Regions from separate parts of the Homo sapiens genome. Here regions 2, 3 and 4 are each linked to region 1. The links are contacts of gene promoters, found by promoter capture Hi-C in blood cells and fetal thymus (Javierre and others, 2016). All regions are on one chromosome and are shown on one strand. The core of a region is centred on a gene start or on the middle of the fragment in contact, and the rest is flanking DNA. Distances in the headings are between cores, read along the strand shown. Region 1 holds the start of CNOT4 (CCR4-NOT transcription complex subunit 4). Region 2 overlaps LOC107984123 (a long non-coding RNA gene). Region 3 overlaps LOC107984123 (a long non-coding RNA gene). Region 4 has its middle 5.3 kb from the start of STMP1.

Region 1 (7,376 bases), core at 2,859-5,358:
AGAGATGGGGTTTCACCGTATTAGCCAGGATGGTCTCGATCTCCTGACCTCGTGATCCGCCCACCTTGGCCTCCCAAAATGCTGGGATTACAGGCGTGAGCCACTGTGCCCAGCAATTTTTGTATTTTTAGTAGATACCAGCTTTCACCATGTTGGCCAGGCTGGTCTTGAACTCCTGACCTCAAACAATCCACCCACCTTGGCCTCCCAAAGTGTTGGGATTACAGGCATGAGCCACTATGCCCGGCCTGGCCCTTGCCTTTCTCTAAATTCACCTCATGCCACCCTTCCCCTTACTCACCATAGTCCATATACACCTTCTGGTGAGGCTTTTTTTGTTTTGTTTTTGTTTTTGTTTTGAGATGAGGTCTCACTCTGTCACCCAGGCTGGAGTGCAGTGGCACAATCTTGGCTCACTGCAGCCCCAACCTCCCAGGCTCAAGCGATCCTCCCACCTCAGCCCCCCTGAGTAGTTGGGACAATAGATGTGTGCCACCACGCCCGGCTTATTTTTTGTATTTTTGGTGGGTTTTGGCAGGTTGCCTAGGCTGGTTTTGGCAGGTTTGGCAGGTTGCCTAGGCTGGTCTCGAACTCCTCGGCTCAAGTCAGCTTGCCTCTGCCTCCCAAAGTGCTGGGATTACAGGCATGAGTCACCATGCCTGGCCATGGTGAGGTTTGTTTGTTTTTTGAGACAGAGTTTCGGTCTTGTTGTCCAGGCTGGAGTGCAGTGGCGTGATCTTGGCTCACTGCAACCTCCACCTCCTGGGTTCAAGCAATTCTCCTGCCTCAGCTTCCTGAGTAGCTGGGATTACAGGCACCTGCCACCACACTTGGCTAATTTTTTTGGTATTTTTAGTAGAGACGGGGTTTCACCATGTTGGCCAGGTTGGTCTTGAACCCCTGACCTCAGGTGATCCACCCGCCTTGGCCTCCCAGAGTGCTGGGATTACAGGTGTGAGCTATCGTGCCCAGCCTGTGGTGAGTGTTTTTTTTAACCACCTCCTGTCTCTGCATATTCTCCACTCTCAACCTGGTAAAGACTACCCTCCTCTCCCCACCAATCTAAATTAGGCTCCCCTCTTAAACTTTCTCATAACATCCTTTATACATCTTCTTAGTACTCATGACCAATTGTAATCATATATATGAAATTCTGTTTATATGCTTGTAGTTATTTATTTATATGATTATTTAATCTCTGCTTTTTCTACTAGGCATTATGCTCTATGAGGACAGGGACCATGTTTTGCTGACCATTGTTTTGCTATACCACCAGCATTGAGCACAATGCCTAAAGGCAAAATAGATTTGTTAAGTGAATAGATAGGTTCCACACTTAGGAATCATTAGGTAAGCAAAGTAATACAACTGAATGTTTTTTGTTTTGTTTTGTTTTGTTTTGAGACAGAGTCTCACTCTGTTGCCCAGGCTGGAGGACAATGACATGATCATGGCTTACTGCGGCCTCAACTTCCAAGCCCAAGTGATCCTCCCACCTGAGCCTCCCAAGTAGCTGGAACCACAGGCAGGCACCACCATACCCAGCTGTTTTTCAAATTTTATCTTTGTAGAGACAGAGTCTCCCTAGGTTGCCCAGGCTAGCCTTGAACTTCTAGCCTCAAACAGTTCTCCCGCCCCAGCCTCCCAAAGTCCTAGGATTACAGGCATGAGTCACCACACCTGGCCAAATTTAATGTTAACTTTTAAAATTATATGAGAATGAAGTGTTACATACATAAGTCTATATGATAGTATATATATACACATATGCATACATAAACATATGAAAACTGGCAATGTAGTATAGTAAAAGGAGTACTGGCCTGAGATGGTAGTGACTCTTACAATTGGTGACCTAGGAACTGTCACCTCCTTACTGTCAGTCTCAATACAGGGGTGGCATTGCCCCCTAGTGTTGGATATTTTATTTATAAGTGCTAGCAAACCATGACTTGACTGTATTTCTAGAATGGTCATGCTGAGCATTTATATATTGAAATACAATTTTATTATAAAATATTTTCTTCATATCATTTATATTATAAATAGCACATCATTTTGATTTCAGATGAAATCATGTATATAGGTAGTTTATATACCTATGAATTTCATTTTAGGCTAACAAAGAGCATATTATAAAAACATTTATTAAAAAAAGGAATGTTGGGTAAGATAAGGTTGCCACTGGATTAGGTGATGCTTAAGATCCCTTCCAGTTTTTACTGTGATGATTCTAATCTTTCATAATGGGAAGGCTTCTTTTTATTTTGTTCTTTTCATTACTTTGTTTATATACTACTATAGAATCAGTAATATATACAAGAACAATAAACACATTTTTAAATAAAAATGTCAACCATATTGAATGTTTAGGCATTTAATTACCTAAAGGGAAATCCAAATAATTTCCCAAGTTTCCTTGCTAGGTAATCATTTCATGATTCTATAATTTCAAACTTTGGGTAAAATGTGACTTCACTACATATTTTAATTTTTACCCAAGTAACTGTTGTCTCTAGGTTTATAGTGAGGAAACTGAAACACAGAAAACCAATGTACCAAAAGAATGAGGCCGGGTGCCCTGGCTCACGTCTGTAATCCCAGTACTTTGGGAGGCCGAGGCAGGCAGATTACCTGAGGTCAGGAGTTCGAGACCAGGCTGACCAACATGGTGAAACCCTGTCTCTACTAAAAATATAAAAATTAGCCTGGCGTGGTGGCACGTGCCTGTAATCCCAGCTACTCGGGAGGCTGAGGCAGGAGAATCACTTGAATCCGGCAGGCGGAGGTCGCAGTGAGCCGAGATCGCGCCACTGCACTCCAGCCTGGGTGACAGAGCTAGACTCCGTCTCAAAAAAAAAAAAAAAGAAAAAACAATGAATTGAGGGCTTATTATGAAATTAAGTTCGTAAATTTAAAACTGCAACCTCTTTCCCTACTCCCCTTCCCTGCTTTAAGTTTTTAAAATCGGTTATGACATACTATGCATTTTAATCACGTATTTTTAAAATAATGCCTCTTCTCTCCTCTTCCTCATCCCAACACATCACTAGAATAGGGACAGGGAATTTTTTCTATTTTGCTCACCATTGTATTCTCAATATATAGAAGAGTACCCGGCAGCTAGGAGGAGCTCATTGAGTATTTGCTGTATGAGTGGGTGAAGAATACATGCAATAAGCAAAAGTTACTGCTTCGAGCGCCACTTCCACCAGAGTTCTGGGATGCAAACGGGGCGACCAGTACATTGACTGACTTTTGTGACTGATGATTCCTCAGTGCTCGTAGGGATTGTGGCTGCATTTATTGTTCTTGGGGATGTGCCGATGTGTGTAGTTTGTAAACTTGCACACAGCTGTGCTGGCTGGACACCGAACTAACACTAATTTGCACCGAGGTCCGCAAATTCTCAAATTCACACCAACAGAAGCACGTTATTGTAAGTGCACGGGTGTTCCGTTCTCTTGGGTAATCTGCACAGAACAATTTAGTGTATGTCTTCACTGGTGATTTTACAGTGAAGAAGGGATCAAGGGTGGTGGCCCCAAATGCGCAAGGACAGGGAAATGAATTAAACAGGCGCCTGTTTCCTCCTTGTTCGCAAACAGACGCCAAGTCTGTATCAAATTCTCACCCTGGATCAAATCCCGCGCTCTTCGTACCCACAACCTGCCTCCACCTCCACCCCGCCCCCTTTAGATATCCCTGGTGGGCGGGGCAGAGAATAAACATTCCGGGCTCCCCGAAAAACTGTTTAGCCTCGCCCCAGTCTTGGGGTAGCACATTTCCGCAAACACCGAGGACACGGAATCACTAGTGAAAACCGCCGACCAAATGACATTGAAGCAGCACACGCGTGCAGAGAAGGAAGCAAAACACGAAGAAAGGCATCAGTCCAGCAGCCACGTGAGGTGGGCGATCCCCTCCGCCCTCTGAGAGAGGACTTCAACTCCCGGCGTGCCCCTGGGAGGTTACCCTCCGAGGACTTCAACTCCCAGGGTGCTGCGGGAGCGGCCACCGCAACCTCCCACTCAGCCGCCCGCCGCTCCTCCCGCCCCTCCCCCGCCCCTCCTGGCCGGATCAGCGTGCGCCTGCGCACGGGAGGCCGGAGGAGTCTTACCCTAATGTAAGATGGTGGCCCGTCTGGCTGTGGAACCCACCGAAAGCTGAGAGTCTCTCTCTCAGCCGTAAAGGTCGGACTCGCTGAAGCAATCAGGCCCGGTTCTGAAGAGTTTTTTCCCCGACGCTCGTTCGGTGGTTTCTTGTGAGGACGCGGCAGCCCGTGGAGTCGGCTGAGGGAAAAGCGAGGCAAGGCAGGCGGGTGAGTCTATGCGGGGCTGGGCTTAGGGGAAACCCGGGGCTGACCGGCTACGAGAGAGCGGAGGCTTCGCTGGGACTGTACAGGCCGCACCCCCCTTTCTCCCCACCCCCCGCCTCATCTTCACCCTCCTCCTCCTTGGTCTTCTTCCTCCTCCTCCTCTTCCTCCCTCTCCCCTTTACGCCACAGCAGTTACCATAAGGAAAAGGGAGCGGGTCAGAAGGCAGCGCGGCGGCAAGCAGCGACTCTCCTTCGAGAATTTCTTTAATTGGGGAGCCGAGGCGGCTTTTGGTCTCCAGCTTTTCCCCCTGCATTTTCACCGGGGCAGGATTCTTAGGTCTCAGCCCTCCTTGTTTCCCCAATCCCCTGTTCCCTGTCTGACGTCCTTTCCCTCTGGCCCCCGTCTCCCAAGACCAAAGCCATCACTTCCACTCTGATCCGTGTTGGCTGCTGCTGCTCATTAATCCCACTGCTCATTGCCCACTCGTCCTGCTGCTTGTTTTTTTGCTCCACTGCTACCACTCTGGAGTTAGCCTTTGCCCCCCTCTGGTGCTTGCAATCAGCCCACAGTGTATCTGCCACACTAGAGCTGCTTCCGATTTGCAGTCTTTCCTTCCACCACATCTGTCATCTTAAAGCTGCCCCTTAAGTATCTAGATTATGCTCCTCCTGCTAACCCACCTGTTTCTCAGCCTTCTTGAGAATTGTCCGTTCCTTCCCTCTTTCCTGTACAGATCCTTTCAATATACACTTCCAGAAAAAGGGAAGCCCCGTGGTGGCCCTTGAAAAGTAAAAGGAAGTTGGGAAGTGAATGAAGTGAGGTAGGATACTATTAAACGTTATGAGTGAAGATCTTTTATTCAGGCTACTCCGGAGAGGACCGTTTTCGTTTTGCTTTCTGTGATCTATTTGTCGCTTATTCGCTCTGTTGTGTTAGGACTTGGCTTTTTTTCTTTTTTTTCGTTTTGGACCGGTTTTATCATGCTACTAAGCGTTCTTTGGATTGCCTCTCCCCAGGACACTTAGTGTGGGCCCTGATTTATACCAATAAATATTAACCCCAGCATTACAAAATAAGATAAATCTGGCGCACATACAGAATTCATCTGTGAACTCCGCTAGCAAATATAAGTGATATTTTGATTACATGTGGGTTATGTGTGGGTTCTGTATTGAGGCTTGATTTTTGACTGAGTTTTATTGATGTTCAGCTTAATTGATGACATTTTATTTATGATTTGAGTGGAAATTTCCTCTCCAGTTAATATCAGATTTTCTTCTTATTTTTGGATTTGGGAAGTTCTCTTGACATTTCTAGGATGATAGTTATCAGAATAAATTGTCTTGTCTTGAAAATCCATTAGTTATGTATGCAAAAGAAAAATCGACATTTTTATATAAACCTAAGTTCCTCGTATTTTTCTCATAGAAAAGAAGGGGGCTGGGAAAAGAATGACAAAGCTGTGCACATACATGCATTTGGTGGAACTCACTGTCATTGTTATCTACAGTAAAAAGCAGAAAACTGGAAGCAAGAGGTGGCTTATGATGTCCATGTTTTGGTGAAAGCAAAATTAAGATGTACTGACTAATGGTAAAATGGGAAGAAGCAGCCCTGGCTATAATCAGACCACTGTGAGATAAAGAATTACCAGAAAAGCAACCAAGATTACATAGTTCAAATACATACATCCCAAGTTTAAACATGACTTACATGACATTGTATTCTTAAGATATATGTAAAAATGTTTAAAATCAGTGACAGTCTCATGTGGCAGTCCATTACTGGGTTATTGTAATTTTTACAAATTTTACCTGTAAAATTTGGAATCTTAACATTTGGCATTATGTTCACTTGATTGTGATAAATGGTCTGTTTTACCAAATGTAAACTAAGGTTAGAAAAGCTGTTTATAAAACTTTTTTCTTTCAGCCACTTAAGCCCCAATTTGGGGGACCAAATAAATACCTACTCTTAGAACTGCAAGCAATTTATATAGCAAACTTTGTGCTAAGTTACAAGTTGAGTTTTGGGTTTTTTTTAATCACTTACATTTAGTTTATCAGTAGGAGTGTATTTAATAGTTGATCTTTAACTCTAAAAAATATACTTTTTGTTGTAATACACTGGTGGAGAAGCTTTCCACTTTTAAAAATCCTAACACAGGTTTAGAAACTCTTGGCAGTCATACTTGGCTGAATTGTAAGCAGTGAGTTCTAGGAGAGGATTGTTTGTCTGGTAGAAGGGAGTAAGTGATTTTAATACATCTTTTTTTTTAAAAAAAGGTATTTGTCTCACGAAATATTTTCTCAAGTAATTCTTTCCCCTCCATAATTTTTGCCCGCAGTTACTGAATTCTTCATTTCAGCCCTCTGAAGTCAAAAGGAATTTACTTTTGTATCTTTAGTACGTTTAAAGAAGATATCTAAAGTTCTTTAACATTTTGATAGGAAATAGGGAGCTGAGATTTCTAAATAGTTTTGCTTGGTTTTAGTTTTTTGATCTAACGTTATGAACACTGAAGCTTCATATTTTCATGGTTTCTTTTGATAATTTGGAATACTTTCTGCCAGGTTGAGTAGTTGAATTCTTGAGATCAATAGATTATTTCTGTAAGAAGGTTTTGAACATGAATCGCTTAAAGTTGGCCTATTATAAAATTAGGATGAGACAGTTATAATCAAATGACAAAGTGCAGAAAAATAAAATTGTTTTTGTAATGCCCTTCAACTTGAGTCTAAATGGGAGTACTAGCGATAACTTGCAACTCATTTGTTAAAGAAAGGGTGTTGCCAGTGGATGAACTCCTAGCTTTAGGGGAGTCTTATTTTAAAAATGATTTTGTGTGCTTTAAAGGAATGAAAAAATATCTTATCAGTTTAAGCAGTTTGGATTTAGAAATCTTCCCTTTTTTCACCTCCCTAATCTTGGCTTTAAAAGGAATCCATATTCTTCAGTTTAATAAATTTATCTTTTTGTTGTTTTGTATGAGAAAAATATTAAATTTTCTTTTCTTTCTTTTTCTTTTCTTTTCTTTTTTTTTTTGAGACAGTCTCG
Region 2 (7,376 bases), core at 3,442-5,941, 250 kb after region 1:
CATATTTATGTGAAATGTAACCTTTGCAAAACTCTACTGGAAGCTGACTAACAAAACTAGTACTTTACTTCAGGATAGTGAGGAATGGGGAAGAACTTTAATTCCAGATCCTACAGGACATCTCTACTGTGCTTTTGCTTTGAACCTCACACCATTGGATTTTCTACCTATGCACCTTTTTGTTGTTGGCATCTACAGACCAACCCTCCTTCTCTGAGGATGTTAGTGTGTTGGTCACTGTTCCTGTCTCCAAAATTCTTGTCTTCATAGTTGGAGACTTCATATCCACAGAGCTCATCCTTCCCACACCTTGGCTTCTAGTTCCTTGAGCTCCATGATCTGGCCCTTTTGATAGCAGCAGGAGGCAGACAAATTCCTAGACAGACAGGGGCAGATCCCTGGTGAAGCCTGACCTTCAAACCAAAGACAGCTTAAAGCTTGAAAACCAGGCCTCCAGTTCCAGGTAGAGTCTATGAGCCAGAGTGAGAACTTCCTTGTTTAAGCCTGAAAACTGGGCTGCCAGTTCCAGGTAGAGTCCACAAGCTGGAGTGAGAACTTCCTTGTTACTTTTTTTTTTTTCTTGAGACAGAATCTTGCTCTGTAGTCCAGTCTGGAGCGCAGTGGTGTGATCTCGGCTCATTGCAACCTCTGCCTCCTGGATTCAAGCAATTCTCCTCTCAGCCTCCCAAGTAGCTGGGACTATAGGTGCATGCCACCACACCCGGCTAATTTTTGTATTTTTAGTAGAGACAGCTATGTCACTATGTTGACCAGGCTGGTCTCAAACTCCTGACCTCAGGTGATCCGCCTGCCTCGGCCTCCCAAAGTGCTGGGATTACAGGCATGAGCCACCATGCCTAGCCCCTCGTTACCTTTTAGCCAATCCAATGGTGATTTTTCCAGGCCTGCCCATACACCAATCAGCACACATTCCCCCATTCTGAGCCCATAAAAACCCCAGACTCAGCCACACACTGGGACTACCTGCCTTTGGGTAGGGTCTACTCACTTTTGGTCCTCTCTCCTGTCAAGAGCTGTGTTGTCACTCAATAAAACTCTTCTCTGCCTTGCTCACTCTCTGGTTGTCTGCATAACCTTATTTTTCTTGGATGCAGAACAAGAACCCAGAGCCCACCAAAGGACTGGCGTGAAAGGAGCTGTAGCACTGTATCCGTCCCACCCTCCACTGGCACCGGATGGCTGCCCCACATGACAGGAAGTGTTGGTGTGACCAGACCAGCAGCCCAGGAGCCATGGGCTAGAGTGGGGCATTGGGACCGAATGAGCGGTAACATGAACAAGCTGAAACACATTCCTGCCCAGCCTGCCAAGCTGTGGGCAGTGACACGCTCTTATTTGCCAGACTACAAGAGAAGATCTGTGACCCTTCTGGGGGCCCATACCTTGGGGCTCCCCAAGCCAGAGCTGTGACATGCTGTAACACCCTCTTGCAGCTCCACGGTTGCTGGTGTCTTTGAGTTTTCAGGCACCACGGCGTTCCCCTTGTTGGGATGCCAGTGCCCAAGGTGGAAGCCACTTGAGGCATACCTGGTCCAGCCACAGCCTCACATGGTTCTGACACCTGGAGCTGCCTGCCCTTCTGCAGCAGCTGGTGCACCTGGCTCTGTGGTGTGGCTGGACCCTGTGCTCACTCACACACCTCCCACTACTCCGCGCCTGGCTCACCCATGATGGGAATGGGATCTGGGCCAGTAGTGCAAGCTGAGGACAGCCTGCTGGGCTGAGTAGGCAGAGCCAGCCCAGCAGTTGTGAGCAAAACTTGGTCAGAGGCGCCACTGGTCACAGAAGTTTCTGGCTGGTGAAGTGGCACTGAAAGAATCCTGTGTGACTTTGCTCATCTCAGTTACTCATTCTGTGGCCACATCTCAGACTAGCCTTGGGGATTCCCAGTAGCTGTGCCTGCAATCCTCAATTTCAAGCAGTTGTCTGACCACCACCTCCTATTTTTCCAGCTCACTACTTCTAGTCCCCCAAGTCTAATAACTCTTTAATTGGCCAGGATCTGAATCTACCGTCCTCCCACCTTCCGCTGGTCCCCTCTTCCCTCCTTGAGCAACCTCAATGCCACAGTCAGTCATAATAACCACCTTCTCGCATTTGCAACGCCCTTAGTCTGCTCTCTTCTTTACACTCTCTTGGCAAAACCTGAACGCTGATGAGAAATAACTCTTCACTCTGCACCTGCACTCGTGCAGTTGAGCATCTCTGGGGAAAACATACAGTTGAATGGAGTGGTTTTAGATTCAGACCCTGAACTTCACGGGATCCTCAGTGCCGCCTGGCAGGCAGGAACCCTTTCCCAAGCACACTGCTCTCTCTGCTAAAACTCTTTCCACCTCTGTCTTCTTCTTCTTTTTTTTTTTTTTTTTTTGAACTTCACGGGATCCTCAGTGCCGCCTGGCAGGAAGGAACCCTTTCCCAAGCACAAGGCTCTCTCTGCTAAAACTCTTTCCACCTCTGTCTTCTTCTTCTTCTTTTTTTTTTTTTTTTTTTTTGAGACGCTCACTGTCACTCTGGCTGGAGTGTAGTAGTGCGATTACAGATCACTGCAGTCTTGACCTCTGGGCTCAAGGGATCCTCCTGTCTCAGCCTTCCGTGTAGCTGGGGCTACAGGCATGTGCCACCGCACTCTGCTAATTTTTTAAAAAATACTTTGTGGAGACAGAGTCTTGTCATGTTGCCCAGGCTAGTCTTGAACCGCTCGGCTCGAGCAGTCCTCCAGCCTTGGCTTCCCAAAGTGCTAGGATTACAGACATGAGCCACCATACCCAACCTCAGCTTCTTATTTCAGAGAAATCTGTAAAGGAGTAATCAGATGAGAAACTGTGCAAACACCTGCATGTCTCCACTCCTAGCTTTGGTGCCCCTTGACTCTCCCTCCTGTTGGGTGAATGAGCTGCCTGGCTCCTCCCTGAAGCTGGTTCCTCCCCTTGTGCTCCAGAGCCCATTCCCTGATTTCTATTCAAGGGTTTCACTGCGACAAGTCTCCTATCTTGCATCAAGTTTTCTCTTTCTTTCAGTAACGCATGTCAGCATACACACCTGCTGTTATTTCTGCTATCTTAAAAAAAGATTTTTTTTCTTAAAAAGAGACTTTTGTGAGTGTGTGCCATGGTAGGCTTAAAGTAACAGGGTCCCGCCCATCTAACATGCTGTAATAAATGTGCTGGAGCTGAGGACCTGCGCTTAGCTGCTCCAGGAGTCCTGGATGCCTCTCATACCAGTCAAGAGCAGGCCCATCCTCTTTCCTTACCCTACTGCTTCTGTGCCCACAGAAGCCCTTCACATCCTGTCTCATTCTGCCCTTTGTTCCTTTTCCTTTGGTTGACAGCTCCAGGACTTCAGAACATTCCCTATGTTCTCACCAAACAGCTGCCAGGCAGCCAGGCTCAGTTTTCCAAGTGGGTTTTCCTGTACTTTATTTTCGTATCGTGCTGTCCCCAGGCAGCCAAAGCAGGATGAACAGCAGGAGAAGAGAGCCAGGCCCTCTCCTGGAACAGCCTCCTGGTCTTCCCTCAGCTGTACTTTTTTTTATTGTCAGAACACGTAGTTTCAGAGCTTCAGGAACAAGGCAGCTTTGTGAGAAGCATATGCAAGAAGGGACAGATTTCTGACATTTCCATAAAAGCACAAAGGCTTGTTTTGTTCAGAATCAAGGTTGGAGAAGTAGCTGGTGGATAAGAAGTAATTGACGAGATGGGCTTGGGGTAATTAGCTTGATTCAATTAGCATGAGGTGGAACTGAGTTACCCAAGCTAGATGTCAGCTCAGCCCAGCCACCACCCGCCCACACCATCTGCACTCAATAAGCATTTATCTGTTGGAGCTTTTTCTGCACATTCCAAGGTCGCTATCAGAATCTGAATCCCCTGTTCTGATAATGCAGTGCCTAGAGCCACGGCCTCGCAGCTTCCCTCCTTCACCTCCAATCTTGCTTCTTCCCGCCTCCACTTGACCTCCCATGATCCCCCTCCCAGTCATCACCTAGAGGTGATGCACAGAGTGGCCGACAGAGTGAACTCCAAGGGCTGGCTTCACATTCCTACATCCTAATTCTTTAGAGGCAGGGCTTTTTTGTGACTTTAAACAACAAAATTGTTCCCCATTCATTAACTTATTGGGGATAAAAAGAGTTAGAGGTGAGGTGATCTGAGATTCTTCTATTAAATGGTTTGGGGCTTCAGTTAAATCATTGTTTCTTCATCTGTCAAATGGCAGTAATAACAGAGGCCCAACCTCCACAGGGAGCTGCTATAACAACAACAACATAAAAATCCCCAAGGGGTACCCGTGATGTTGGTTTCATGTGTCAAGCTGGCCAAGCTATAGTATCCAGTTATCTAATCAGGCACTCCTTTAGGGGGTGTTGTGAAGGCATTTTATAGATGTGGTTAACAAACCAGTCCACTTTAAATTAAGAAGATTGCCCTTGCTGATGTGATTGGGGCTCACCATCCATTAGCTGAAGGCCGTAAGAACAGAACTGAGGTTTCTGGGAGGAGACATTCTTTCAAGACTGCACTGCCAACTCCAGCCTGAGTTTCCAGCCTCCTGGAAGCCCTACAGATTTCAGACATGCAGTCCCCACAAACAGATAAACCAATTTCTTAAAATAAATCTCGGTGTCTCTATATCGTATTGGCACTGTTTTTCTGCAGAACTCTGATTGCTACAGTACTGACTGATATAGGAAGATACCTTCCCGATACAAGTCCTTGGTGGGGAGGAAGGGAGATTGAGAACCACGTGAAGGTAGTTTTATGCAATAACTCCATCCCAGGCTATGCCAATACCCAAGGCTGCAGGAGAGAAGCAGAGGGCTGTTGGGCTCACAACCCAGCACAAGGTTGTGGGGGGAAGGGACACCTCCACATCCTGCTGAGGTCCTCTCTGACTAGGGGCTGCTGGCAGGTATGGCTCAAGGAATGAAGTCGCAGCCTTGGACTAAATAGGATCAGGGTGGAGCTTGGTACAAAGAGGGAGGGGCTGGCTAGCACTGGCATACATTGCTTGAGGGCCTACTATGTGCACGCCCCTCTGTAAAGCTGCATTTCTTCTTTCCCACACAGCTGGCTTGGTGAGCCTCTAGGGGTGGCCAACCTGAGCTCCTGCATTCCTGTCTTTCCAGCAGGAGTTCAAGCTGCCCCTGAGCACAAAGGCCCTTCCTGCCCAGCTCCTGGAGAGCCTCCCTCTGCCCACTCGGTGCGGTGATTTGTAAGCTGTGAAGGGCTTGCGAAGCTCCTATCCCTGCACACCCCGGGGGAAGTCCTTGAGTGCGGGCTCATGCATCTCAGGACTGCTTTGGAGTCACACAGGACTGGGTCTGGGTCCTAAGACTTAGCCGGTGTTTCAGACTCTCGCTAGGAGATAACACAGTCCAAGCCTTTGGGAGGGCCTCAGTGCAGGGGAGGGGCTGCTATGATGCCTTGAAAACTGTAAAGAGCCATGCAAGCCCATTCTCCCCGCACACCCTGCATTAGTCTGGGTTCTCCAGAGAAATAGAGCCAATAAGATGTGTATATACGTAGATACAGAGAAAGAGAGAGGTGAAATATTTATTTTAAGGAAGGGACCCATGCAGTTGTGGAGGTGCAAGTCTAAAATCTGCAAGGCGGGCCGGCAGGCTGGGAAGAGCCGCAGTTCAAGTCCAAAGTTGGACTGCTGGCAGGATTCCCTCTTTCTCCCGGGAGGTCGGTCTCTTTCGATTCAGGCCTTTAACCTATAGGAAGCATTCTGAGGATCATCTGCTTTACTGGAAGTCTCCTGACTTAAATGTTAATTTCATTAACAATACCTTCACAGAAACATCTAAAATAATGTTTGACCAAATTCCTGGGTATCACAGACTAGCCAGGTTGACACATAAAATTCACCCTCACCCCCAGTGTCCAAGCCCAGGTACACGTATGCACCCTTTGCCCAGAAGCCTCACCAGAAAGCCCTCGGAACCCTCGGACCTCACTGTAGCTCCTGTTCAGGTGACTTTATTACCAGGAGCAGCAGATGAATCTGGTTCCACCCAGCTGTCCTGTGGCACAGGGTTGAGGTCAGCACTGCCCCTGGCTCTCAGAGTGTGCAGGATGAGCAGGTGGGCTGTGGAACTCTCTAGAACCCATCAGGGCAATGCCCTGTGCCCAGGACATGCTGAAAGTACCTGGTGTTATGTCACCTCCGAGGACAGATCCTGCCTGTCCTCCTTGAAAGGCCCATGGCCTGGGCCCCAGCTGTACTTTCTACCCCCTTAATAGGAGCACAATAGCAGCAGGCCAGCCCTTTGTGCCAAACAGTCCCTAAAGACCAACACGAGGCCGTGCTTCTCTTATACTTTATAATAATCAGAAACTAAAATCATCAAAATGCTTCTGGAACAACCCACTCCAAAGAGTCCTGGAGGCCAAGGCAGGTGCAACCTTAGCTGCCAGCATTCAACCTTGGGAACTGCCCACCTCATTCAGTCCCTCCCCTCGCAGCTCCTCTTCTGCATTACAAATCTTCATCGTCAAAGGTCTCTGTGCACTGCAACATGATCATCTCTTCATCAACGGGAAAGGATGCTTCCTGCAAGACACAGGGTGGAAGAGGGTCACTTTTTATCTGTGGGTCTTGGGCCCGAGGCAGATAGGAAGGCTCCTGCATCTCCGGTGTGCCCAGCCCCCAGACTCTATCCTACGTCTCTTCCGCTGCATTTTCACCTCCAGCTTGGGCCAGGAAGCAAGGGCTCTAAGGGGGGAAGGTCCCATTTCCATTTCACTCAACTCAGCATTCTATGACCTCCAGAAAGGACACAGCAGAACTGGCTTCTTTTTTATCCTGGGGATTTCCAGGTTCCCACAAGAGAGACAGAGGACCTCATAAGGCTTTATCCAAATGCTCATCAATAGAAGACGGTGCACTGCACCACGGTGCTCCCACCAATGAAACACCATGCAGCTCATTTCCAACAAAAATAATGAGACAGCGTGCTCTCTGTGGGATACACTATTTACAAAGGGCAAAGTGCAAAGCAATGTGTACCGTAGGCTACTACTATTTGTGTTTGAAAGAATATATAATATCTGTAGAATATCTTTGGATGAGTGTACAAGAAACTGGTCACTGTAGTTGCCTCTGGGGGAGGGTATGGGGTAGGAAGCAAGGAAGAGAGAGAGACTAAGTGTCCATTGTATATCTTTTGGTAACTTGTAAATTTTATGCCATGTATATGGGTTACCTATTAGGAGATGATATTTTTTTAAGCAGCAGCACTGCAGCTGGTCATGATGGCTCAATGCCTGTAATCCCAGCACTTTGGGAGGCCAAGGCAGGCGGATCACCTGAGGTTAGGAGTTCGAGACCAGCCTGGCCAACATGGCGAA
Region 3 (7,376 bases), core at 3,053-5,552, 230 kb after region 1:
TCTCCTACCCTGGAAAGCCAGGCCTCTGTGTCTTTCTCACCATCATTTTGTTCCTTCAAGCACACATTGCAATTTTTTTCAAAACTGTGCTGCTTTGTAGAAGTGATGTGAAATATGAAGAGGTCATTTGAGATTGTATTTCTTGGTCTACTCTTGCCCCGTTCATGCTGTGAAAAGTGATCCTTGAGCTGTTGATGTGTAAGTTGATATCATGTTGGTGGGTGATCTGGGCTGCCAGTCTTTTTATAGTACTCTGGGTCAGATCTTTAGTTGCAGAATGGGCAAAGCTCAAACCAGAAACATTGTCAATACCAGTTTTTTAAGTCTTTAAATTTCCCTTGCTCTGCGATATGTCCAGGATAGGCAGCCTGCCAGCTCTGTGATGGGCCATAAACCCTCAAAATATATTCCCCCACCAAAGGCACATGAGCCCATTGCTGTTGGCAATCTGGACCGTCCTGGGTGACACAAGTGGCAACAGATGGAGGTGGGGATTATGTTGTTTGTGAGCGTGTGTGTGCATGGCTTGTGGCCCAAGGTGTCATCTTGTGGACTCTAGTGACTACATTCAAAGACATACTTCCCTCTTTTTAAGACTAAGGGGCATCAACATGAACAACCAGTCTCTAAAATTTAACCATGAAGTCCTGTCCCATGAAAGGGAAGAAATGTAAATAGCATTTTCTGTGATTCACTTGCCAGATCAGTTAGTTTATTAACTATGGCCCAGGAATCCATGGAATTACATATGGTATAATTGCTGGTAGGATTTGCATGTGCACAGTTACCACGTCATACACACCTTGGTCCTTTGGACCGACTTAGACTTGCCATACTTCTATCAGGGGCCTTCCGTTGGCTGGACAGAATGTTGCATTCTTCTAGTTCCAGCCTTTCCCAGTTAATTGAGTTCCACCTTCAGAAAGATGCCAACTAGTGCTTTTGAATTCAAAGATTTGTACAATGGGGCCCAAGTCTCTGTTGCTGGATTTAGATTATACTGTGAGGTTTGGCTGCCCTAGGGGATGGGGACTAAATCACTTGCTTGTGGATATTATGTATCTTTCCTGGGTAATTGTCTTTTTTTTTCCTGAATATGACTATTTCCCTGTAATCAACACATTTTGTTTATCAGGCCGTTCCTCATTAGAATGTCTTTCTGACATCACTCAAGACATGATTGACATCTCTGATTTACACTTATTTGCTTATTCATTAGTGGTCTAACCCCAAACAATGCCCAGTGGTGGACTGCTTGGTAATGGTCTTTCAAAGGCAGAGTGGTTGAGTAGCTGCCTTGGGCCACATCTGCACCAAAAGCCCCATGGCAGTGCTGGACACCTGTCTTTTGCAGGGTCAGTCCTCATTCAGCGTAGACTCCATCACCAACACTTCCCATAGCTCAGGAGCACTGTGCCTGTGAGGATGCAATAGACCAATCTGAGCCCTAACTTGTGAATTTCAGCTAGAACCTTCTGTTACTCTTCTCTACTTTCAACGACAGCCTTTTTGCATGTGCCTGTACTCTGACATATAGTCCAAAAGTACAGCCAGATGTAAGTAGACTCAATTGCCTCATCAAATTCCTGTCCTTCCTTTTTATCTCAGGGTGGACCCAGAGTTAACAAGGCATTTCAAGCTTTAAAGAACTGTTCCATGTAGCTCTAGACCAAGATATACCTAAGGCCTTCACCCGTCAAGCTGGTGGGGCCTGGAGTTTTGCCAGGTCGGTTGTCCAATCTCAGAGCGGTATGTGCTGCACTACCTTTTCCAAATCAAGAAGTTCTTCAGCGAAGTCTATTCATATCGTATCATCAATAGAATGAATCACAGCACACATGCAGTTTGTGGGTTTGTGGGGTTTCCTGTTTTTGTTGCTTTTTGCTGTCCCCCGGGGAGCCTATACTTGGCTTTGGTAAATCCAAATTAAAACTGGGCATCTGCTCTGCTAGATTCCAGGGCAGGGTTTCCCTACACTCAGCCCCGCTGAGAACTACGATTCCTTATGTAAGAATCTGTTGCCTTCCTACTTCCCAAGAAATAAGATCTGACAAGTTAATTCGTCTTTACTCCTAGTTAAGCCCTTCTGCTGCTCAAATCCTTCCTGTATTTTAATGCAATGTCTGCCTCTATCACTGCAATGGAACAACTGAAAAAACTTCAGTATGGCTGGGTGTGTTGGCTCATGCCTATAATTCCAGCACTTTGGGAGGCTGAGGCGGGCAGATCACCTGAGGTCAGCAGTTTGAGATCAGTCTGGCCAACATGATGAAACCCCATCTATATGAAAAATACAAAAATTAGCCGGGTGTGATGGTGCACGCCTGTAGTCCCAGCTACTCGGGAGGCTGAGACACGAGAATCTCTGGAACCTGAGAGGCAAAGGTTGCAGTGAGACGAGATTGTGCCATTGCCGTCCAGCCTGGGCAACAGAGCAAGACTCTGTCTAAAAATGCAAAAACAGAAAACTTCAGTGCATTTAGAAGCAGTTGCCTTGTGTTTTGAGGACGGTGGACAACAGTTATGGAAAGGAATGTTCCTGGGGGCCTGAACAGTATCAGTAGTGAGAGTGGATGTTTAGGGATTTGGGTCATGCCCTGCCAGCACTGAGGACTAGATTCCAAGTGACAGAGGCATTCTTATTTTCTTTAATACATTTGCTGTTTACTTTTGTGCTTGTGATATGTAGAATCCTCTAAAGCAGTTTGCAAAATATGGCTCTTGGACCAAATCCAGCCTGTGACCTCTTTTCCTTTAATGGCCCATGAACTAAGAATGCTTTTAAAGGTTGTTTTACAAAAAGATCGTGCATCAGAAACTACATGTGGCCTACAAATTCTAAAATATTTACTATCTGGCCTTTTACGGAAAAAGTTTGCCAATCGTTGCTCTGAAACAGAGGGCCCAGGTCTAAGGGAGCCATCTTCACCCACACTGCCCCCAAGTGTCCAACACAGTGTGTCACAAACCTGGGGTCTTAGCTGTGGTATTTTAGCTCCCTCTGCTGGGCCAATGTTTTTCACCAGTGCTGTAAACACGAGAAAGTTCTTGCTAATTGCAACTTCATCTTATTAATTGATGATTGATTGGTTTTATTCACCGAGTCAGCCTATTGGAAGGGAAGATAGATTCCTCATGTTTCACTAAGTTATACTGATCCACACACATCTCAAGGTTTGAAACCACTGACGGTCAGCCGACCAATTATACAGCACAATACTAGCCACAGATGAAAGTGACAGCAATATGGAACCAACAGGATTATCATTACTCATTGGGATGCAAGAAGTAGTGGAGAGGGAAAAGTGAAAGATGATTCTGTTTTGCGGGAATGGTGGTTGCAGAAAAAGTAGAAAACCGTGGGAAGAAACGGCAAATTCAGTTTTCAACACCTTAGACCAATTTAAACGTCATCCTCCAGTATCATGGTAGTTTGAGCTAACATAGAACCCACAAACATTACCAACACCTGAAAATGCTGGATGAACGGTTATTAAATCCAGAATCAAGTTCAAAACCAAGGAGGAAAACCTTACTTTCTAGAAACAAAGATGGGAATTATAGCCAGGATCATGTGGCTTATGATGGTTAGGTAAAGAATCAGACCCAGATATAGGACCGAAGGCTAGGAGCTTGGGTTGTAATGATCAACTGGGATCTGGAAGAGCACCCACTTCAGTGAGCGTGGGAAATAATAACGCTACCATTCCAGGGAATAAACAAGGAAACTTTTATTCTTCCTAGAGGTCTGTGGGAAGTGTTAGAATATGGAGTTGCATGAAAAATAAGGACTCCAACTCTACAACACGTGAACACATATGGGTGTGGTGGAAAGATTTGCAAGCTCAGAAATTAAAGCTAAAACTGGTCCTGCCAATAAAATACCTGTGGTTCTCACAGAAGAAAATGTACAATTATTCTTTAGGGATATTTCCACATTCTAAAGCACGTAAGACACAGGGAAGAAAAAGAATGCCCCTGAAGAAGAGTTCACAGACATAAATTTTGTCATTTCACACCAGGTAATAATGTATTATGAGAGAGAATCAGTAGAATCCAGAGCTAATAGAACAATTTAAAAGATAATAGTAAATCAATATGTTTAAAATAATTAAAGAGACTCAAGAAGCAATAGAAACCATAATCTAGAAGATAAAATGAAACAAGAACAAGGAAATTTGAACATAGAACCAAATAGAAGTTTAGTAATAAAAACAAATAAAGTCACTGCAATTAAAAAATGCATTTAATGAGTTAAACAGCATTTAGACACAGCTAAAGAGATATTCATGAATTGAAAGATTATCTAAGGAAATAATCCAGAATGCAGCACTGAGAGATAAAAAGATGGGAAATGTGAAATAGAGGATGAGAAATATGAAACAGAAGTTAAGAAATGTGAAGCTAGACTGAGAAGTCCAGCATGTTTCTAACAGGAATTCCTGAAAGTGATAATGAGAAAATGGAAAAGTGATAGTATTAGAAGTGATATAATGGCTAATACTATTTTGGAACAGATAAATATGAATATTCAGATTTTAAAAGCACATGTAGTCCCAAGTGTAATAAACAATTAAGTCTACAATTAGATATATCATAATGAAACTGCAATACAAATACAAAGAGAAAAATCTTAAAAGTAATAAGACAGAAAAAAATGCCTACAAAAGAATAGCAATTGGACAGTTAGCAGCCTTCTCACTAGCAACGGTAGAGGCTGGAAGACAATGGAATATTTTCAAAATGCTAAGAGAAAATATTATCATCCTAGAATTCTATCCCACTGTAGAACCCCACATCAGGCAACACTGATAGCAAAATAAAGACATTTTCAGGTAAACGAAGACTAAGAGTTTATCAGTCACAGACCCTTATTAAAATAATTATTAAAAGCTAAACTTCAGGAAAAAGGAAATGGAATCTCGAATGAAAGAGTGGTGGAAAAGAAGCTATAAGTGAGCAGAGGAACATATGGGTAGAAAACATAGGTGGGTTAGTCAGCTTGGGCTGCCACAACAAAATACTATAGCTGGGTGCAGTGCCTGTATATGTCTGTAGTCCCAGCTACTTCATAGGCTAAGGCCAGAAGATTGCTTGAGTCCAGGAGTTCGAGACCAGCCTGGGCAACATAGTGAGACCCTGTCTTTACAAAACAAAAACAAAAACCAACCATAGACTGGGTGGCTTGAACAACTGAAATTTATTTTTTCACAGTACTGGAGGCTGGAAGTCTGAGATCTGGATGCCAGCATGGTCAGCTTCTGAGGGGTGCTCCTTTCCTGGCTTGCAGATGGCCACCTTCTAGCTGTGTCCTCACAAAGACTTTCCTTGGTACATGCAGAGAGAGAGAGGAGAGAAGACAGAGAAAAATCTCTTCTCTTTATAAGGGTACTAAGCCCATCAAAGGGGCTTTTCCCTTATGTATTAGTCTGTTTTCATGCTGCTGATAAAGACATACCCAAGACTGGGTAATTTATCAAGAAAAAGAAGTTTAATGGACCAAACAGTTCCAGGTGGCTGGGGAAGCCTCACAATCATGGCGGAAGGTGAACGGCACGTCTTACATGGCAGCAGGCAAGAGAGAATGAGAGCTAAGTGAAAGGGGAAACCCCTTATAAAATCATCAGCTCTTGTGAGACTTATTTACTACCATGAGAACAGTATGGGGGAAACCACCCCCATGATTCGGTTCTCCCACTAGGTCCCTCCCACAACATGTGAGAATTATAGAAGCTATAATTCAAGATGAGATTTGGGTGGGGACACAGCCAAACCATATCACTTTATGACCTCATCTAAACCTAGTTTCTTCCCAAAGGCTCCATCTTCAAACACCATCATATGAATTTTGAGGGAACACAAACGTTTACTTCACAGTACTAGGTAAATCCAAATAAGCACTAATTGTAGGAAAATATAATAAAAACAATAATGAGCAATGGCAGTGGAAAAATAAACAAATATTTGACAACAATAGCAGAATGGTGGTAGAAGTTCAAGTTTTCTAAGGTCACTGTACTATTTGATGGGAGACTAGACATTTTATTTACCCATGGGCAGTGTTAAGTGAACAATTCACATTAAAAAGTTGTGAGCAACTTCTAAAAGAATAAAATAACAAGTCGAACATCCAAACAGTAAAATAAAATGGGGAAATAAAGCAAACTTAATCCAGCAGATAAGTTGGCAAATTGCAGCCCAGGAGCCAGATCTGGCCCATCACCTCCTTTAGAGCAGACAGCCCACGACCAAGCATGGTTTTACATTTTAAGTGGTTAAAAAAATCAAAAGAAGAACATTTCATGACACATCAGAATTATCTGAAATTCAAATGTCAGTGTCTATAAGTGAAGTTTTATTGGAACACAGCTACACTCATTTCTTCACATCTTGTCTGGAAAAGTTGTGACAGAGCCCGTATGGGCATAAAGCTGAAAATATTCACTTTTTTGGTCCTTTACAGAAAAAGTTTGCATAGCCGGGCGTGGTGACTCACGCCTGCAATCCCAGCACTTTGGGAGGCCCAGGCGGGCAGATCACGAGGTCAGGAGTTCAAGACCAGCCTGACCAACATAGTGAAACCCTGTCTCTACTAAAAATAAAAAAAAAAATTAGCCGGGCATGGTGGCGCGCACCTGTCATCCCAGTTATTCAGGGGGCTGAGGCAGGAGAATCGCTTGAACCCGGGAGGCGGAGGTTGCAGTGAGCTGAGATCGTGCCACTGCGCTTCATCCTGGGTGACAGAGTGAGATTCCGTCAAAACAAACAAACAAAACAAAACCAAACAAAACAAAGAAACCCAGAAAGTTTCCCGACCTCTGCAATAGAAACTAGGAAAACAGAAAAATGCTGCAGCAAGATGTTCAATACACGACCGAGTGTGCTAGTGTTGGGAGTCGCCAACATCATCATCATTGTGACTACAATCAATAATTAATTTTGAAGCCTATTTCCTGAAAAGCTTTGTTCAGCGAAAAAGTCCAACACGCAGTTGGAAATACAGACTGGAGGGAGGAGGGAAATCAGAGTTCTCCTTCTCTCAGTTCCTTTGGGGTCCAGCTTTGCCCCTGCACTGCCTAAGAACCGCCTAGGGGTCACCAGATTTCACCATGGGCTGCAGCATCCAGAACTGTCACGGTGGCCTGGGCCGCGCCTAGGGGCTGCAGCCTCCGGGACTGTTACGGTGGCCTGGGCCGCGCTGAGGCCCACAGTCCTGAGCACTTCTCCCCTTCGGCTGCAGGGTGCTATCATGGTCACTTCCTGTGTCCGGATGCTGGTGGGCTTCTCAGGCCTGACTGGCTTTCTCATGGGTTTCATCTGCTCCTTGGCCGTTGCTCCAACTAACTGCCTAGTGGCCCTGCCCCTCTTGGATTCTG
Region 4 (7,376 bases), core at 97-2,596, 150 kb before region 1:
CCCAGGCTGGAGTGCAGTGGCGCAGTCTCGGCTCACTGCAAGCTCCGCCTCCCGGGTTCACGCCATTCTCCTGCCTCAGCCTCCCGAGTAGCTGGGACTACAGGCGCCCGCCACCACGCCCGGCTAATTTTCTGTATTTTTAGTAGAGACGAGGTTTCAACGTGTTAGCCAGGATGGTCTCGATCTCCTGACCTTGTGATCCGCCCGCCTCGGCCTCCCAAAGTGCTGGGATTACAGGCGTGAGCCACCACGCCTGGCCCAAACTTTACTTATATTAGTGGTAACGGTGGAGCTGGAGAGTATCACGCCTTCTCCAAGCTGCCCAGCAAGAACCATCAATAGTGTGGTGGAACTTATGGCACTTTCCAAGGCCACAGCTCCTTTGGCCTGCAGATGTCAGCCCACACATCTCCCTCTGCTTGTGGACTGGTTTGGTGATCGACTGGGTGTCAGGATTTCTTCTGATAACTTCATAGAATGGATCAATGAGGATAACCTCAAAAAATCTGTATGTGGAATCTTCACCAACCCAGTAAGAATTCAGGACTCTTAGAGCCCCACAGTTGTGTCCAACTCGCTCCTCTGCAATGGACTGAAGGCTTCGAGCAAACTTCAGCTGGTTAACACCATGATGGACAGGCTTGCCATAAGTTGCACCCTTAGGAATTGGGCATTTTTGACCACCATGGTGAACATGAATCCTATATATAATGTAACCTTGCTTGGCCTTGTAGCCCAGCTGGCGTGCTTTATCAGGCCAGGTGGGGCAGGGAGCCCCGTGGACAGCAGATAGCTGGCAGTACTGCCAGCAGCAGACCCTCAGAAGAAAGCGCATGACATCAGACTGCTTCTTCCTCCATTGCTCCTGGATGTACTTGTATGCATCCATTTTGGCTTACCTGATGGCTGCTGCCAGACAGAAAGGAAAGAGCTTACTCCCCCTGGTCTGTGTTTTAACATTAATGCTGATCAGTTGTTGCATTTAAACTGCAAAGGAGAGGGGATATAACGAGGCATGTCTGACCTCCCGTACCATCATGTCTGGGAACTCAGTTTTAAGGTCTTTCTGGAGTCCCTTTGGCCAAAAAGAGGGTCTGTTCAATCAATGGAAGGAATTTAGGATGTTTAGTTTACCTAGGGAATAGGAAAGCTATAGAAATCTAATCAACATTTCCTATTTCTGCTTTTCTCCAAACATCTCTCATTGTTCTCTCTGTCTTCCCCCACCCACTTCCTGGTTTTTCTGCTTTCCAGCATATTGCCACAGCAACCGACCTGGGTTTATTTATTAAATGGCTAACCAATAGAGACACTCTGTGGTTAGCCATTTGTATTAGTCTGTTTTCGCACTGCTATAAAGAACTCCCTAAGACTGGGTAATTTGTAGAGGATAGGCGTTTAACTGACAATTCTGCATGGCTGGGGAGGCCTCGGCATACTTAAAATCATGGTGGAAAGCTAAAGGGAAGCAAGGAATATCTCACATGGTAGCAGGAGAGAAAAAGGGAGGGGGGAGCTGCCAAACACTTTTAAACCATCAGATCTCTTGAGAACTCACTCACTATCAAGAGAACAACAGCATGGGGGAAACTGCCCCCGTGATCCAATCACCTCCCGCCAGGTCCCTCCCTCGACACGTCGGGGCTACAGGGATTACAATTGGAGATGAGATTTGGGAGGGGCCACAGAGCCAAACCATATCACCATTTAACAAGTAAACTCAAGTAAGTTGAGTTTACTCCTAATAGGATCTCTCTCTCTTTGCCATTCTCGAATGCCAGGGAAAGGAAAACTGATGGGTCAAGATGGTGTCAGATGCTCCACAATCAACTACAACTAGAAAGGGCAGGGTCTCTGAACTAAAGTGGCTGCCAAGAGGGAAGAGGGAAGGGATACTAGGAGATGGCTACAACACACCATACTTTCCAGTCTGTCCAGGTTAAAACTTGACTCACTCAAGACTTAACCAGTGCTTCTCAACTTTAATCTTCATTCACATCACCTGGGCATCTTATTAAACTACAGGTTCTGATTCAGTACGTCTATGGTAGGGCCTAACTTTCTGCATTTCTTTCAACCCCAAATGATGTTGCTGGTCTATGGACCAGACTTTGAGTTGCAAGATGCCGGACTGTGAGCTACACTGAGGGTGAGGACTTCACCTGTTGAGCTCATGACTCCATCCTCAGCGCCCAACAAGTGTCTGGCACAGCCTCTGAACGCAATATAAGGATAGTTATTAAAATTTATTTCGTAGAACCTTATCCTCTCCTTAAGATAAGGCTTAAATGAAGCCTAGCTTTTCCTCTAAGGCTTTTTCAAAGGTGTTTTCTCTAAATAAACACAGGGCATGGAGAAGCAAGGCAGGACTCTTTTGTTCCCCACTGCTACTTCCAGATTATCCCTTCAATATCCTTATATAAAAACACTTCCTTTACTTTCCTGTTTACCATTAGCTCCCCCTTCCCTTTTTTTTTTTTTTTTTTTTGCAGTGGGGTCTAGCTCTGTCACCCAGGCTGGAGTGCAATGCCGTGATCTCGGCTCACTGCAACCTCCGCCTCCTGGGTTCAAGCGATTCTCCTGCCTTGGCCCCCTGAGTAGCTGGGATTACAGGCGCCCGCCACCATGCCCAGCTAATTTTTATATTTTTAGTAGAGACAGGGTTTCATTGTGTTGGCCAGGCTGGTCTCAAACTCCTGACCTCATGATCCACCCGCCTTGGCCTCCCAAAGTGCTGGGATTACAAGCGTGAGCCACCGCACCCAGCCTACCTTTAGCCCTTCTTAATGTCTTAATCTGTTGATTTCTGAGGCAGTCTCCTCATTCACTGAAGGCTTTGGCATCTAACCCACAGCCTTCCTTTCAGTGCCACATTATCGTAATTTTGGGTGACTTCAAGGCCATATGCACTTGTACTTTCCAGATCTCCTTCCTTCCAGTGACCTTCACCTTCACTCCCCTTCAGCAGTGCTCTACCGTGATCGTTAACACTTTGTCATATCCTAGACCTGTGAAGTATACTCCCAAATCCTACCTCCTCTCCTATCAGCCCTTTGACCTTAGCCAGATCTCCACTCAGCTATTCCATATTCTCATGAGCTATGAGCCCCCTTCTGGAAGGCTTCAGTCCTTTTCTGTCTAGTCTATACCCCAAGAGACCAGCACTTTAAGGACCGTTACTCTCAATTCTCTTATCCAGTGGTCTTCTCTGATACTTGCCTTTTAAAATTCTAATTTTTGATCTCCACCTTTTCCAGTCCCATACCAGTGATTCTAAGCACTAAATGGAGAAAAGATGGATCATTCAGCAAATGATACTCATCTAACCAGGATCATTACGTGGAAAAAATAATGATGTTGGGTTCCTACTTTACACTTTGCACATAAATTACAGATAACATAAATGGCACTGCACACATAAGTAACAGCTTAAACAAGACAAAAAATATTAAAAGAGTAAAAGAGAGAAGTTATTTTATAATCTACAAATGAGAGTGGAAGCTTTTTCACATCGCCAACATGATACAAAACCCAGAAGCCATAACAGATTGAGAAAATCAACTACATCAAAATTTAAAAATTCTGTAAACACTTTTTGTGAAATAAGTGACAGTGCTAACTTCCTTTATATAAAGATCTGCTACAAATCAGTGAGACCAATGGCTCAATAAAATATGGCCAAAGGATTTGAACAGTTCACAGAAAAGGAAATACAAATGGTTCAAACATATGAAAAGATCCTGTGGGTGGCATTTATGTTAATACTAAGAGAAATGTGGATTAATACTATAATGAGGTACCATTTTTCTCCAGATTGGCAAAAATCAGAAAGCTTGGCCAGGAGCGGTGGCTCACACCTGTAATCCCAGCACTTTGGGAGGCTGAGGTGGGCAGATCACTTGAGTCCAGGAGTGTGAGACCAGCCTAGGCAACATGGTGGAACCCCATCTCTACAAAAAAATACGAAAATCACCTGGCTGTGATGATGTGCGCCTGTAGTCCAGCTACTTGGGGGTGCTGAAGCAGGAGGATCGCTTGAACCCGGAAGGTCAAGGCTGCAGTGAGCTGTGACTGCACCACTGCATGCCAGCCTGGGTGACAAAGTGAGACCCTGTCTCAAAAAAAATAAAATAAAATAAAATTTAAACAGCTTGATAACATACTGTGTTGGAAGAAGTAGGGGAACAGGCACAGTTTACACAACATTGAGGGGAGAATGATTTGTTAAAACTTTCATGGAGGCAGTTTGGCCAGAACTATAATTTTAAATAAGCATAACTTTTTCCTAGCAATTGCTGAAATTATGCTCAAAAACATTCATTGTAGAAAAAGGTTGGAAACAATGTTAACCAATAAATTAACGATTAAAATCATGCTATATATCTACATTGAAATACTTGTGCACGAGAAAAGAGCTTTATGTGTTGATATGGAAATATCCTCAAGTGAAAAAAGCAAGGTGTTGGTATGCTACCATTTGAGGCATTGACAAAAATATCAGTGGGAAGGAATGTGCTATTCAATAAATCATAAAATTATCCATATGGAAAAAAGTAAACGTAGATTATACCATTCACAAATATCAATGCCAGAGAAATTAATGACCTAAGGAGGAGGCAACATTTTTAAATGCCAAAAGAAAATACAGAAGAGTATCTTTATGATTTCAAGTGGGAGAAAATTTTTAGATAAAGAGCACATACCATCAAGGAAAAGATTTGACACATTAAAATGTAAACAAGTATACCATAAAAAAGTTGAAAAGATAATCCAACAGACTGGTTGTCTGAAAAGAGAAAACTGAAAAAAATTGAAGCCATTCTGAATGGCTTCAATTCAGCCATGTGTAATTAAGCAATTACATATAAATTCAGGATGTGTAATTACCTCATACACATCAAAAAGAAAAAACCCAATAGAAAAAAAAATGGGTAAAGCCTTTTGAAGGGGGGAAAGAATGGTACACAAAATATGCAAATCAATTGAGATAATATTTTATACCCATTAGATTGGCAAAATTAAAAAGCATGACAACTGGGCCGGGCGCGGTGGCTCACGCCTGTAACCCCAGCACTTTGGGAGACCGAGGTGGGTGGTTCCCGAGGTCAAGAGATCAAGACCATCCTGGCCAACATGGTGAAACCCTGTCTCTACTAAAAATACAAAAATTAGCTGGGCGTGGTGGCATGTGCCTATAGTCCCAGCTACCCGGGAGGCTGAGGCGGGAGAATCGCTTGAACCCGAGAGATGGAGGTTGCAGTGAGCCGATATCGTGCCACTGCACTCCAGCCTGGGCAACAGAGCGAGACTGCATCTTAAAAAAAAAAAAAGGCCGGGGGCCCATCCCGGTTGCAAGGTTTTTTAAGAACAAGATATTTGAAGTATCCCTCCATGGATCACTTGTTATAATGGGAAACACATATTTTACAACAAAGATGTGTGTCAAATACCACCTTAACCAAGTGGTCAAGCTTAATATAATTGGACACACTGATATGCACCTCCTCCTGATGTGATACACTGAAGGCACATATCAGCTGTACAAGTGTGGTATTCTGGCCACAACTGTTTAACCTGTTTAAAAGAAAACAAATTGTAGGACCTTTTCCAAAACAGCTAAAAAATGTCAGTTATAAAAGCCTCCCATCCTCCGAAAAGCCAGGGAACTGTTTTAGAATAAAAATTGACTAAAGAGATAACTAAATATTGGGCCAGGTGTGGTGGCTCACACCTGTAATCCTAGCACTTTGGGAAGCCGAGGTGGGCAGATCACTTGAGGCCAGGGGTTCGAGAGCAGACTGGCCAACACAGTGAAACCCTGTCTCTAAAAAAAAAAAAAAATTACAAAAATAGGCTGGGCATGGTGGTGCACGCCTGTAATCCCAGCTACTCAGGAGGCTGAGGCACGAGAATCACTTGAACACGGAAAGCAAAGGTGGCAGTGAGCCAAGATCGAGCCACTGTACTCCAGCCTGGACAACAGAGTGAGACTCTGTCTCAAAAAATAAAAAAAAGGGATAACTAAATATAATGTGGTTTTTTTTTTTGTTTGTTTGTTTGTTTTTTTGAGACGGAGTCTTGCTCTGTCGCCCAGGCTGGAGTGCAGTGGCGCGATCTCGGCTCACTGCAAGCTCCGCCTCCCGGGTTCACGCCATTCTCCTGCCTCAGCCTCCCGAGTAGCTGGGACCACAGACCCCTGCCACCACGCCGGGCTAATTTTTTGTATTTTTAGTAGAGACGGGGTTATCACCGTGTTAGCCAGGATGGTCTCGATCTCCTGACCTCGTGAACCGCCCGCCTCGGCCTCCCAAAGTGCTGGGATTACAGGCGTGAGCCACCGCGCCCGGCCAATGTGTGATTCTTAATTGGATCCCGGGTTAAAAAAAAAAAAAAAAGTTATAAAGTGCATTTTTGGGACAATTGAGGAAATTTTAATGGACAGATTAGATATTTTTATTGTATTTTATTGTCAAATTTCTTGGATATGATAATGGTGTTGTGGTTAGGAAGGAAAATATCCTTGTTCTTACTTGTTAAAATATTTAGCAAGTAAGTGTCATCATATTTAGTAAGTGTCATAGTGTCTACAATTTAGGGAAGAAAACTAGCATATATATATATACACACACACAAAAAAAGCAAATGTGCAAACTGTTGACAACTGGCGAATCTAGGTGAAAACTGTATGGGTTCATGGTACCTTTCTTCCAACTCTTTTGAAGATTTAAAATTGTTCAAAATAATTGGGAAGGCCGGGTGCTGTGATCCCAGCAGTTTAGGAGGTGGAGGCAGGCAGATCACCTGAGGTCAAGGAGTTGGAGAACAGCCTGGCAAAGAAGGTGAAACCTCATCTCTACTAAAAATACAAAAACTAGCCGATCATAGTGGCGAGCACCTGTAATCTCTGCTACTTGGAAGGCTGAGGTAGGAGAATCACTTGAACCCGGGAGGCGGAGGTTGTAGTGATCTCAGACTGTGCCACTGCACTCTAGCGTGGGCGACAGAGCAAGACTTAGTCTCAAAAAATAAATAAATAAATAAATAAATAAATAAATAAATAAAGTTGAGAAAACACTAGACAAATATTTAGAAAAGATTATGTTGTATATTAACAGCTGTTACAGCCCAGATTAAGTTCAGACATAATTTCTATATTACTAACTGACCAAAACTACAGTAGTAATGACTAGGAAGAGAGTATGTACCTCTTTTTGATTTTCTAACCCACCAAACTGATTCACTCAGTAAAAATGCCATATTTAAATCCTGCATTTATTTAAAATTTAAATGTAGCTTTTCAAAACAAACTATCCAACACTGGTTTTATCCTCTCTGCTTGCTTCGGTGAAGAGTGCGTGCTGCACCTGGCGCCCTCT

What was found. The method cuts DNA at HindIII sites, captures the fragments that hold promoters and counts their contacts. A CHiCAGO score of 5 or more calls a contact.
Region 2: a contact is called between a fragment that was not itself captured here and the fragment with the promoter of CNOT4 in region 1, in 1 of 17 cell types (M0 macrophages). The highest score is 5.0, in M0 macrophages.
Region 3: a fragment that was not itself captured here is called in contact with the fragment with the promoter of CNOT4 in region 1 in 2 of 17 cell types (M1 macrophages and M0 macrophages); the score reaches 7.8 in M1 macrophages.
Region 4: a contact is called between a fragment that was not itself captured here and the fragment with the promoter of CNOT4 in region 1, in 3 of 17 cell types (non-activated CD4 T cells, fetal thymus and monocytes). The highest score is 7.2, in non-activated CD4 T cells.

Annotation. Positions count from the first base shown.
Region 1 is chr7:135,506,834-135,514,209 of GRCh38, reverse strand. CNOT4 (CCR4-NOT transcription complex subunit 4) reads left to right here and starts at 4,108. Exons shown (of 12, transcript NM_001190850.2): 1 at 4,108-4,321. RefSeq lists enhancers at 3,413-3,582, 3,733-3,852, 3,228-4,132, 4,163-4,362, 4,133-5,038 and a silencer at 3,923-4,162. The HindIII fragment of the contact is 7,472 bases long and covers 1-6,459 here.
Region 2 is chr7:135,257,621-135,264,996 of GRCh38, reverse strand. It overlaps LOC107984123 (a long non-coding RNA gene), which reads left to right. Exons shown (of 6, transcript XR_007060540.1): 6 at 1,116-7,284. STRA8 (stimulated by retinoic acid 8) reads right to left here. Exons shown (of 9, transcript NM_001394401.1): 9 at 6,334-6,579. The coding sequence ends at 6,505. Among named protein-coding and RNA genes, the nearest start is that of STRA8, 27 kb to the right of the region's middle. The HindIII fragment of the contact is 8,504 bases long and covers 440-7,376 here.
Region 3 is chr7:135,277,262-135,284,637 of GRCh38, reverse strand. The region is part of intron 3 of LOC107984123 (a long non-coding RNA gene); the gene reads left to right. It also overlaps the pseudogene SLC23A4P. Among named protein-coding and RNA genes, the nearest start is that of STRA8, 47 kb to the right of the region's middle. The HindIII fragment of the contact is 5,322 bases long and covers 1,642-6,963 here.
Region 4 is chr7:135,653,552-135,660,927 of GRCh38, reverse strand. It overlaps the pseudogene RPL15P11. Among named protein-coding and RNA genes, the nearest start is that of STMP1, 5.3 kb to the left of the region's middle. The HindIII fragment of the contact is 4,314 bases long and covers 1-3,503 here.